Linked DNA regions of Homo sapiens: region 2 is linked to region 1. The links are contacts of gene promoters, found by promoter capture Hi-C in human tissues and cell types (Jung and others, 2019). All regions are on one chromosome and are shown on one strand. The core of a region is centred on a gene start or on the middle of the fragment in contact, and the rest is flanking DNA. Distances in the headings are between cores, read along the strand shown.

Evidence for each region. Contacts are between HindIII fragments. The study calls those that stand out against the background at their distance.
Region 2: a fragment that was not itself captured here is called in contact with the fragment with the promoter of GPR149 in region 1 in 1 of the 25 tissues and cell types used here (stomach).

What each region holds. Positions count from the first base shown.
Region 1 is chr3:154,428,233-154,433,404 of GRCh38, reverse strand. It overlaps GPR149 (G protein-coupled receptor 149), which reads left to right and starts at 3,215. Exons shown (of 4, transcript NM_001038705.3): 1 at 3,215-4,770. The coding sequence starts at 3,790. The HindIII fragment of the contact is 11,418 bases long and covers 240-5,172 here.
Region 2 is chr3:154,382,903-154,388,236 of GRCh38, reverse strand. The region is part of intron 3 of GPR149 (G protein-coupled receptor 149); the gene reads left to right. Among named protein-coding and RNA genes, the nearest start is that of GPR149, 45 kb to the left of the region's middle. RefSeq lists an enhancer at 4,252-4,421. The HindIII fragment of the contact is 3,757 bases long and covers 1,740-5,334 here.

The DNA.
Region 1 (5,172 bases), core at 1,966-4,465:
ATTATAAATACGTATATACATTTATAATACATATAATGCATTATAAAACATATTTATGTATGTTGTAGATACATATATAATACATTATAAAATATAAAGGCTGGTAAAATATTGCAAATTAAAATTTTATAAAATGAGACATTTCAAACATTCTTTGAAAGAAAGAAAAGCAGAAATAAAACTTTAGATTATCTGTATCCATTGAAAGTGTTCCCAAGGATGGAGAACTAAAAAGGAGTTACTAGCAAATATGTATCTGTTGTGATTAAGAATGCAGAACTAAACTACAGTTTTAAAATCTAACTTAATAAATGTGTGACTTTGGGCAAATCAATTAATCTCTCATGCCTCTGTTTTCTCACCTATGAAAGGGGAGCAATAATATATCTAACAATATTGGGATGAGCTAGGGTATTATCCATTATCAGTCAACTCCACAAATTCAGTGATTTACACAACAAATTTTACCTCTCATTCATACAAAACTTGCTTTAGGTTCATACAGATCTCCAGAGCAAGACTTAATCTCTCAGTTGGCTCAAGATTTCAGGCTGCTTGAGTCTTATACTACCTTCTTATAAACAGGAGCCCCCAGGCTATCACAGAGAAGGAGAAATCATGCAGACCCAAGCATTAGTTATTGCTGGCTTCCACCTCTTATTAGATGACAATGTTGATTATTATAAAGTAGGCAGGAAATAAAATAGAGATAAGGTTAACCTGAACTTTTAAAAATTGTATCATTTAATTTTAGAACTGGAAAGGTCTCTAAAAATAATCCAGTCAAATCCCTCACTATGCTTTGAATGTGTCCCCCAAAGCTCATGTGTTGAAAACTTAATACAAGTGCAAGAGTCTTGGAAAGTGGGGCCTAAAAAGAGATGATTGGATCACGAGGGTTCTGCTCTCATGAGTGAATTAAGGCCATTACCTCAGAAGTGGGCTAGTTACAGAAGGTGGGCTTGTTATAAAAGTGAGACCATGTGCAGAGGCTCACACCTATAATCCCAACACCTTAGGAGGCCGAGGTGGGTGGATCACTTGAGGCCAGGAGTTTGAGACCAGCCTGGACAACATAGTGAGACCTTGCCTCTAAAAAATACAAAAAAAAAAAAACAAAAAAAAAACACCGTAACTGGTCATGGTTGCTCAAACCTGTAGTTCCAACTACTTGGAAGGCTGAGGCAGGAGAATCACTTGAGCCCAGGAGTTGGAGGCTTTAGTGAGCTATGATGGTGCCACTGCCACTCCAACCTGGGTGACAGAGCAAGACCCTGGCTCTTTAAAAAGAAAAAAAAAAGTGAGTTCAGCCCCCTCTTTCTCTCTTTCTTTCTCTCATGCTCTCTTGCCGTTCTACCTTCTACCATGGGATGATGCAGCAAGAAGGTCCTTGCAAGATGCTGGAACCTTGATATTGGATTTCCCAGCCTCCAGAACTATGAGAAATATTTTTTTTCTTTATAAATTTCATAGTCTGTGGTATTCTGTTTTGGCAACACAAAATAGACTAAGATGCCTCTTTATTTTACAGATGCAGAAACAGACAGCCAGAGAAAGTACAAGAATTGTTGTCCTAGGTTACCTATCCTGCAATAGCAGAGTCTAAAGTTAAATTCAGATATCTCTACTAGCTCTCTCCTGGCTGCAGTTCTGCTACCAACCCTTGGAAATGTGCTAAACATTCTTGTTTCTTCTGTAATAGCCCAAAGAACAGTACAACATGGTGATTAAGTATCCCTTTTCCAAATTTATATTTAATGGAAAACCCAGAAATGATGATAATAATAGGGGAAATGTTCTCAGACCTGAAATGGTACTACAGTAGCTATTATTAATTTCTATTCATTGTATATTAACAATCTGAGACTTATTGTCCAACCTAACTGAAAATGCAGGATTCAATACGATATTGAAGAATAATATTTTTGCTATGGCAAGGAAGAATAAGGTTTGTGAGAAGAGACAGAATGGCATGTCATGGAACTTTGAAGTCTTCAAAAATAAGATTTGTTTTTCATCATACTTTCTGAATCAACATTATTTTAAAATGAATATACCCTCAACCTTTCCTACTCACACAGCCCTACACAGTCTATACTATCAGTAGGGAGAGCTAGAGTGCTGAGCTAGCTGTTACATGTGTTTTTTGTTTCCATTTGCTGAGTAAGGGGGAAAATCAAACAATCAACATATCAAGATAAGTGAAATACCTGCTGTGTTTATTGAAGGGTGTGGCTGGTAATGACTAATGCAACCATTTTCTACTTGAACAGATTCGGGTTCAAAATGATACTTCAGTTATTTCTAAAATGAAAAGAATGATCGCAGTTCTATTACTACTTCCAGTTATTAAATCATTATCAATATCAACTATTTCCTTTCCCTTCCCCTGTTTCCATTTAAACCTCCAGCACTATGTGGGAGAATGCAGCCATCTGGTCATGAGGCTAAGCTGAGAAGAATGCTGCCCTAAAGCATCCTGGGAAATGCTGGACCAGAAGTACTTCTGTTAGATACTTCTTTGCTAAATCACGCATCTTGCAAAATTGACCATTAAGAGATACAACTATTGTATGTCCCAAATACTCTGGTTAAAAATGTAGGGTGATCTTCCTTTTAGGCCCTATGTAATATCTTCCGACTTTATGGATACTTAGACATATAATTTATTCGAATGACAGCCTGCTTACTTGATACCATTGACAGAAAATAGTTATAAATAAATGTCTAAAGCTAGTGTGACTCTATCCAAAGATTCTGTATAATCCCGTTTAGAGTAATGAGGACTATAACGACAATCTTAAGTACACTATTTTTTTAAAAGAAATCTGATACATCTGACTCTTATGCATGGGATTGATGATATTCTTCCTCCAATGGATTATGAAGCAGAAAGTCTAGGTAAGAATAAAAGCAGTCCCTTAGTTACTGGAGTAGCTTAGACCTCTCACAGGTTATATTTGTAGTTCACATCAAGCCTGAGCAAGTATTTGGACTAATTTTACATGTTGAAACCAAAGGGGAAGCTTAGCAAGTACACCGTTTCTTGCTTTGAAAGAGTCAGTCTAAGATATACGTATATCATTTTGTTCACACACTGAACTCCCCTCCCTTTTTTTCCTGCTTCTCTCCTGCTTGGAGCTGACTCCTCCTTCCTGCAGCTCCGAGGATCACAGGCTGATTGAAGAACACAGCGGTTCAGATGGGATTCTGTGCACAAGCTCCCTCTGACTGGCTCGCGCTCGCCCTCTCTCTCTCTCTCTCTGTCTCTCTCTCTCTCTCCACCTTCAAAGCTGAAACCTACCTGACAATCTCCTGCCTTTGAATCCAGCTCTGGAACCAAATGCATCATTTTACTGCTCTTAAAAGTGAACAGAGTTTGATTATCTCAAGCTACAAGCTGCTTTGCTCCATAAGAAGGACCCCAAAGGATCCAGACATCATTGGTTTTTAATGTACCTGAAGAGTTTTGTTTTGTTTATTTTTTTGGCTTTCTTCCCTGAAACTTGATGGTGGGAAGGAGTTTTTGCTTTGTTTTTAATTGGAATGTTGAAAAGTTATCTGTTCGGGTTTTTTTTTTTTTATGCTTGAAATGGAACCTAATTTTTAAATATAGCTTGAGTCAGATCTAAAGGAGACATGGCTGACCATTTTCTGCAGGACTGACAAGGAGAACATCTAGAGGGGAACTTGGTAGGAGGAATGAAATCTGATTTGCAGCAGCCGGTCTTTCTTTTGAGAAAATTATCAGACTCATTGATAAGGGAAATTAAATATTGACCAAGGACAATGTCTTTATTTCTCAGTAACTTATCAACAAATGACTCTAGCCTGTGGAAAGAGAATCATAATTCTACGGACCTTTTAAATCCGCCAGGAACCCTGAATATCTATCTTTTTTGCTTGACATGTCTCATGACTTTTGCAGCCTTGGTGGGCAGCATTTATTCACTAATTTCCCTGCTGAAAATGCAGAACAGAACTGTTGTGTCCATGCTTGTGGCTTCCTGGTCTGTGGATGATCTCATGAGCGTCCTGTCGGTGACCATCTTCATGTTTTTGCAGTGGCCAAACGAGGTCCCCGGTTACTTCCAATTTCTGTGCACCACCTCTGCCTTAATGTATTTATGCCAGGGCCTCTCTAGCAACTTGAAGGCGACTCTCCTAGTCTCTTACAACTTTTATACGATGCACAGAGGTGTGGGGAGCCAGACAGCCTCCAGAAGATCGGGCCAGGTGCTCGGCGTGGTGCTGACCGTGTGGGCAGCCAGTCTGCTGCTCTCGGCGCTCCCGCTGTGCGGCTGGGGCGCCTTCGTGCGCACGCCCTGGGGCTGCCTGGTGGACTGCTCCAGCTCCTACGTACTATTCCTCTCTATCGTGTACGCTTTGGCCTTCGGACTCCTCGTGGGCCTCTCAGTCCCACTCACTCACCGATTGCTGTGTTCGGAGGAGCCGCCGAGACTCCACTCCAACTACCAGGAAATTTCCCGTGGAGCTTCAATTCCTGGGACCCCTCCTACTGCGGGGAGAGTGGTTTCCCTGTCCCCAGAGGATGCTCCAGGCCCGAGTCTGCGGCGCTCTGGGGGATGCTCTCCGAGCTCCGACACCGTGTTCGGACCGGGTGCGCCCGCTGCCGCTGGGGCTGAAGCCTGCAGGCGTGAGAACCGGGGGACTCTCTATGGCACCAGGAGCTTCACCGTGAGCGTAGCGCAGAAGCGCTTCGCTTTGATCCTAGCGCTTACAAAAGTCGTCCTTTGGCTGCCCATGATGGTAAAAGTGCAGTTGCTCACAAAGCGCGAGTGTGTGTGCCAGACAGTGTAAATGAGTGTTGGGACCGGCGTCGCCGGTTTGGGGAGTCACCAAGAGACACACAGTGAAGTCCGCTTCCAAGTGTATCTCGCTGGGTTTTAGACATGCACTTAGAAGAAGGCAGTTCGGGACAGGGCTAGTTGGCTGCGAAACCTTTACTACTAAATGCTTCTCCTTTCAAAAGTCAGGGGCATGGGGATCGCTTTCCGTCGCGAGCGACTTAGTTTTCCATATCGGTGGTGGCCAAGGATATTGTCTCACACAGCAAAATCAGAGAGTATTCAGAAAAGGAAAGAGGGAATTAAAAGGTTTTTTCCCCACAACCTTCTGTCATCCCTTTCTCGCCGTTCCATTCCCGCCTAG
Region 2 (5,334 bases), core at 2,369-4,868, 46 kb after region 1:
AGATGAAAAAACAGTAAATGTAAAAGCACTATAAATGTAAGGTAACATAGATCAGTGGATTTTTCTAAATAACTCATTAACTAAAGCATACTTTTCCAAAATAACCTGAAAAACAAGTGTTTTTAAAAGTATTTTATTAGAATCTATATAGTTCACATATCAATATGCTTTCCTGCAATTCAAAATAGGCAAAAATGATTATTTCTTTATTTTAAATATCTCTGCACATTGAGGCAAGTTATAAAAATCAATGTCCCCACACATTAAAAAAATAAGCTATGCTTAGACTTGTTTTTCTTGCTGTTTGTCTTATTATTTTTTCAGTTTTTTTAAGGTCATGCCATAGAGGTTCACAAGACGTGTATTGTTTAATAATAGAAACAGCATAGGTAGAGTAAAAATGTTTCCAGTTTTGATTTGTTTTGTTTTTCCTGAGGGTAGATTTTTTAGCACTCTGGAGAGTGCCCGGAGCTTGCTTGATATAATGATAATAATGTACTCTCTAATAAGAAACCCTGGTTCTTTAGATGTGATCTCATTTATTTTTCACCATTCCCATGAGATGGAAGAAGGCACAGATTTTTGAAGCTTAATTAAGACAACCAGAGATAGTAGATGATTGAACTGGGGAAATAATTTAGGCTCACTGACTCATACTCTACCAAAATTGAAGGAGACATGGGATCTGACCTATACTTGGCTCCAGACAGGTTTGAGCTTATGTCAGGCTCACTGCATTTCAACCTCAGACACCGTGAGAAGAATATGAGTATGCTTCTGACATGGCCTATATTATTCACTCAACAAACATTCATTGAGCCCAAGGCTGGGTCTGAAACATTCAGTGCCAAATAAGACCAAGCCCTTGTTCTCAAGTAACTCAGAGATCAGAAGGAACAGGAGGGCACAGATAATGACAGTACCTCAAGAAAATTGAGTTCTACAGTTTGTGCAAAAGTGTTACAGGCACGGGTAATTTTGCCAAAAAGAGAAGTGAAGTCATTACAGCTTTCACTGTGAGCCTTGAAAGGAATAATAGTTCACCCTGCAGAAAAGGTGGGAGGAAGAGAGTGTGCTCAACACCCATAAGCATAAAATGTCCAGGAACTTTTCGCATTTCTTTTCAGTATAAAATGTATATTCAAAAATTGTCATGATAGGTATTGTTTTATATATATTCAGTTAATGGTTTTAAATGTTAACATATGTTGTAGCATAATCCTGAGATTCTCTCGGCTATTTCCCTTAATAGGGAAAAAAAAAGGAGAAAAATATACTTTAGCTCCTTCTTCCAAAAAAGAAAAGCTGAATTTATCCCAGTTGAATAGGAGGGAAATACATACATTATTATAAAATTTTTAAAATATTGGCTCTTCTATTCAGATATATTTAACCTTATTATTGGGAATTGTTTTATAAGAAAAAATTATAACATTATTTTTTAGCTATCCAAATCTTAACATCAGCTATATGAGAATTCAATCGCAGTGGTTTTGCTTCCTTTTTTGTCCTTAATCTTTTGTTTTCTTCAGCATGTCTTTTACAGGAGTAGCTTGTCCATAGAACACAGTCTCCCTAAGGCAGGTTCTAGGTGAAATCAAAGAGTAGAAGGTGATATCTCCTGAGGGGATGACACATGTTGCTTGAAGGAATTGGTTTGCACTACAAAGGGCTTCCTGTGCAGTAAGGAGATGAATACAAGCTCAACCTTGAAACTCTGATCTTCTGTTTTTAAATGTCTGTACCAACAGCCTTTTCTTATGACAACAGAGTCACACTATGAGACAGTGCCACCCAGGTTTCTCAACAGAGTATGCCCTTGACATCAGGTATGAATCTCTGGTGGGAATTCGTCAGGCTGAGCCTGTACTGTTGCAAACAAAGGTAGACAGACATTCTTGCGTCTTTAGAAATGATGTGTAGCTCTTTGCAATTGTGTAAGTTATAATTGCAGGTCTTTGGAGTCAGAACCAGGTACTTCAAAACTGGTATTGTCTAGTCCTGATTCACAACTATTGTTAGACCTCTTTTTGACTCTCAATTCCCTTAACTAAAAAGGAGGATGAAAACACTCACTTCACCAGATATTAAGGTAAAACAAGATAAAAGTATGAAATATCCTTCAAATATTAGATATTTTTATTCATTAAATATGTATTTAATAATGTATTCATTCAACTAATATTTGTCACAAGCCATTAGTCATTCCCCTTACCTGTACCTGAAGAGTCAGAGAGTTATAGAAATTTGTGTCATGCCTGTAATCCCAGCACTTTGGGAGGCCAAGGCAGGCAGATCACGAGGTCAGAAGATCGAGACCATCCTGGCTAACAGGGTGAAACCCCCGTCTCTACTAAAAATACAAAAAATAGCTGGGCGTGGTGGCAGGCACCTGTAGTCCCAGCTACTAGGGAGGCTGAGGCAGGCGAATGGTGTGAACCCGGAAGGTGGAGCTTGCAATGAGCCAAGATGGCGCCACTGCACTCCAGCCTGGGCGACAGAGCAAGACTCCTTATAAAAAAAAAAAAAAAAGAAAGAAAGAAAGAAAGAAATTTGTGAAAGTTATTGCATTGGAGATCTTTGGATGTGTGACTGTCCCTTATACAGCTCCTAAGAGTGAAGTTCATGTGTAGATGTGATTGTATAATAAAAACGAACAAACCAAAAAGAGTTTCCTTAAAATCACACAGCTGGTAAAAAGCCTAATCAACATCCTACCCAGAGTGTCAGACTCCAGTATTCACTTTCAACTCTTTTTGCCCTGCTCACTCCCCAGAAGACAAGGCAGTAATTCACAAAGAGGACAATGATTGGTTTATTGGAATTTTACAAAACATTTGTACCCAAGGGTGTTGTTCCTGTAGTAAGAGTGCCTCTTCTGATTTTCAAGCTTCTTATTGTTCACAACCGGTACAAAAAATATGAAAGCCCGCTCTAAATTTTCCATCTCCAAAGAATTCGCAGGGATTGGGGATGAAAGCCAGGTGAAATAATCTCCAATTCCATCATCCTGCCCTACAGCAGACATAGCACAAATTTCTTTTTAGCAAATTAGCTGAAAATCTAGTCATCTCTAGCTAAAAATATCTAAACACCAAGCACAAACAGATCCAAGTTCAACACATAAGCTCAGCTATGCACTCACACTTTTATCCTTTAGGAAACACACTCATATCCTTTGAGAAATAGTATTTCTGAAGCACAGACACACATACTATCACACGCAAAAGATATTCATCAAAGGCTTTATTTATATATCCATTTGGAGAAAGTCCATAGGAGAATTTGCCAGGAATGAAGATGAAGAGGAGGCAGCAATGATTCGTATTTTGCCCTCTTCTGCCCAAGAGAAATATTGATAACTATTCTATAGTTGTGCCATAGCCAAAAACAGTGGTCATCCTGATGTTAGAATTCCAATGACAAGCCCTAAATTAGCTCTAACCTGGCACAGAGTAATTCTACAAAAGGGCACAAAAACCCCAGAACTTTGGATGGCTTCCTTGTTGCTGGGTAGATTTTGGACTCTAGCTCTGGCTCTGGGACTGATTAATTGTGTAACAGTGAGCAGGCTCTTTGCCTGTGTTTTCTCATCTGAAAAATGAGGCATTTGAGAAAAACAGGAAGATTGGAGCTAAATAGCCTCAGGTCTTTTTCAGCCCTAAAAATGCTATAGTTTGTAATTCTTTCATACATTGCACAGCCCCAAGTTCCACTTTGAAAAGCTTCTGTCTCCAGAGTATTAGAGTTTTCCCCATCCCAGTCATATCAACACAACTTTTAGGCTTCCATGGTTACTATATAATTGTCTCAGTTGGTATTTCTCACTGATGTTGTTTAGAACAGCTGTAGAGGTATGTACCTTGATTATTGGTGCAGTTACTGATGAGGCAAATAACCTTGGTCTTGAATAATTCTTTTTATGCTTGAGGTGTTCCTAATTGCTATATGTAATTAAAGAGCCTGAACATATAGAAGCTATGAGAAAGTGAGTTTAGTTTACTGAAAATAAGATCTCACCCGAGGCTTTATGTAAACGCCTGGGGCTTTTTAATCTTCACAGTTTTCTAAATGTCCTTTAAGTTTCAGCACTCTGAGTGCAAAGTACATTGTCTCAATGCAGTATCTTGTATGTAAATTTCTCTCATCTTGTCTTAGTTGGCTCAGGCTGTTATAACAAAATACCATAAATAAGCTTATAAATAGCTTATTTCCTCCGAATAGCTTAAAAACAACAAAAACTTATTTCTCACAGTTCTGGAGGCTGGAAAGTCCAAGATCAAGGCACTGGCAAAGTCGGTGTCTGGTAAAGGTCTGCTTTTTAGTTCAGAGACAACCGTCTTCTCACTGTGTCGTCGCATGGTAGAGAAAGGGCAAACAAGCTCCCTTGGGCTGTTTTACAAGGGCACTAATCCTACTCATGAGGGCTCTACCCTCATGACCTAATCATCTCTTAAAATGTCCCCCAATACCATAATTTGGGGGATTAAAGATCAACATACAAATTTTGGGGGGACACAAACATCCAGACCATAGCATCTCCTCAAATATCAAGGAATGACTATAGTACCTCTGTTTTCCAAGCATATGCCCATGAACTCTAAACACTGAAAAATTTGCCACACAAAGTATAAATCAGAACTTTGTCATGGAAGTGTCCATAAATGACTTGAAAAGAGTCTGCAAGTGTCCACATATGACTGTATCAAGTCAACAGGCATTTTTTTTAACTACTTCGATATGGCAAGCAGTGTGCCCCATATTCACTGTGAAGGACTCGCACAAAGTAAGAAATAGAAATACTGCTTCCTTCCTAGGAAATAAATCTATAGAATCAGGTGCCCCCAATCTCAGCCAAACCTAACTTGAATCATTTCCTTTAATGGAACTGCCCATGATTTCAAAGAAGCAGAGATGATATGTTAAGTCTGAGATGGCATAAATTTGGCCTGCTCAGTGGAATGTCTCGCCCCCATTCCTGTTTCCCCAGCTTCTGCCTGCCCCAGTTCTCCCACAGCTGGGTCAACTCATTTAATCTTCTACAGATCCAGCCTCACTATTTATTTTCAGAGCAATTTGAGTTTTAGCAGGATATAAATAAGTAGCCTCAAGCCCAATGCCTCCATTTATCTAGGCTTATTATAGCACCCCTTTTCCTGCAGGCTGGCCCCAGCAATGGACACAGGCACTATGTCCTAGGCTGCCCTCACTTCATTCTCAACGAGAGCCATTCTGTATTGTTTCCAGATCCCACCACCCTCATCCCAACCCTAATCCTGCCCCACTAATTTCAGTCCGCATTGAAAACAGACCAAGTCATCAAAAATCAGTTCC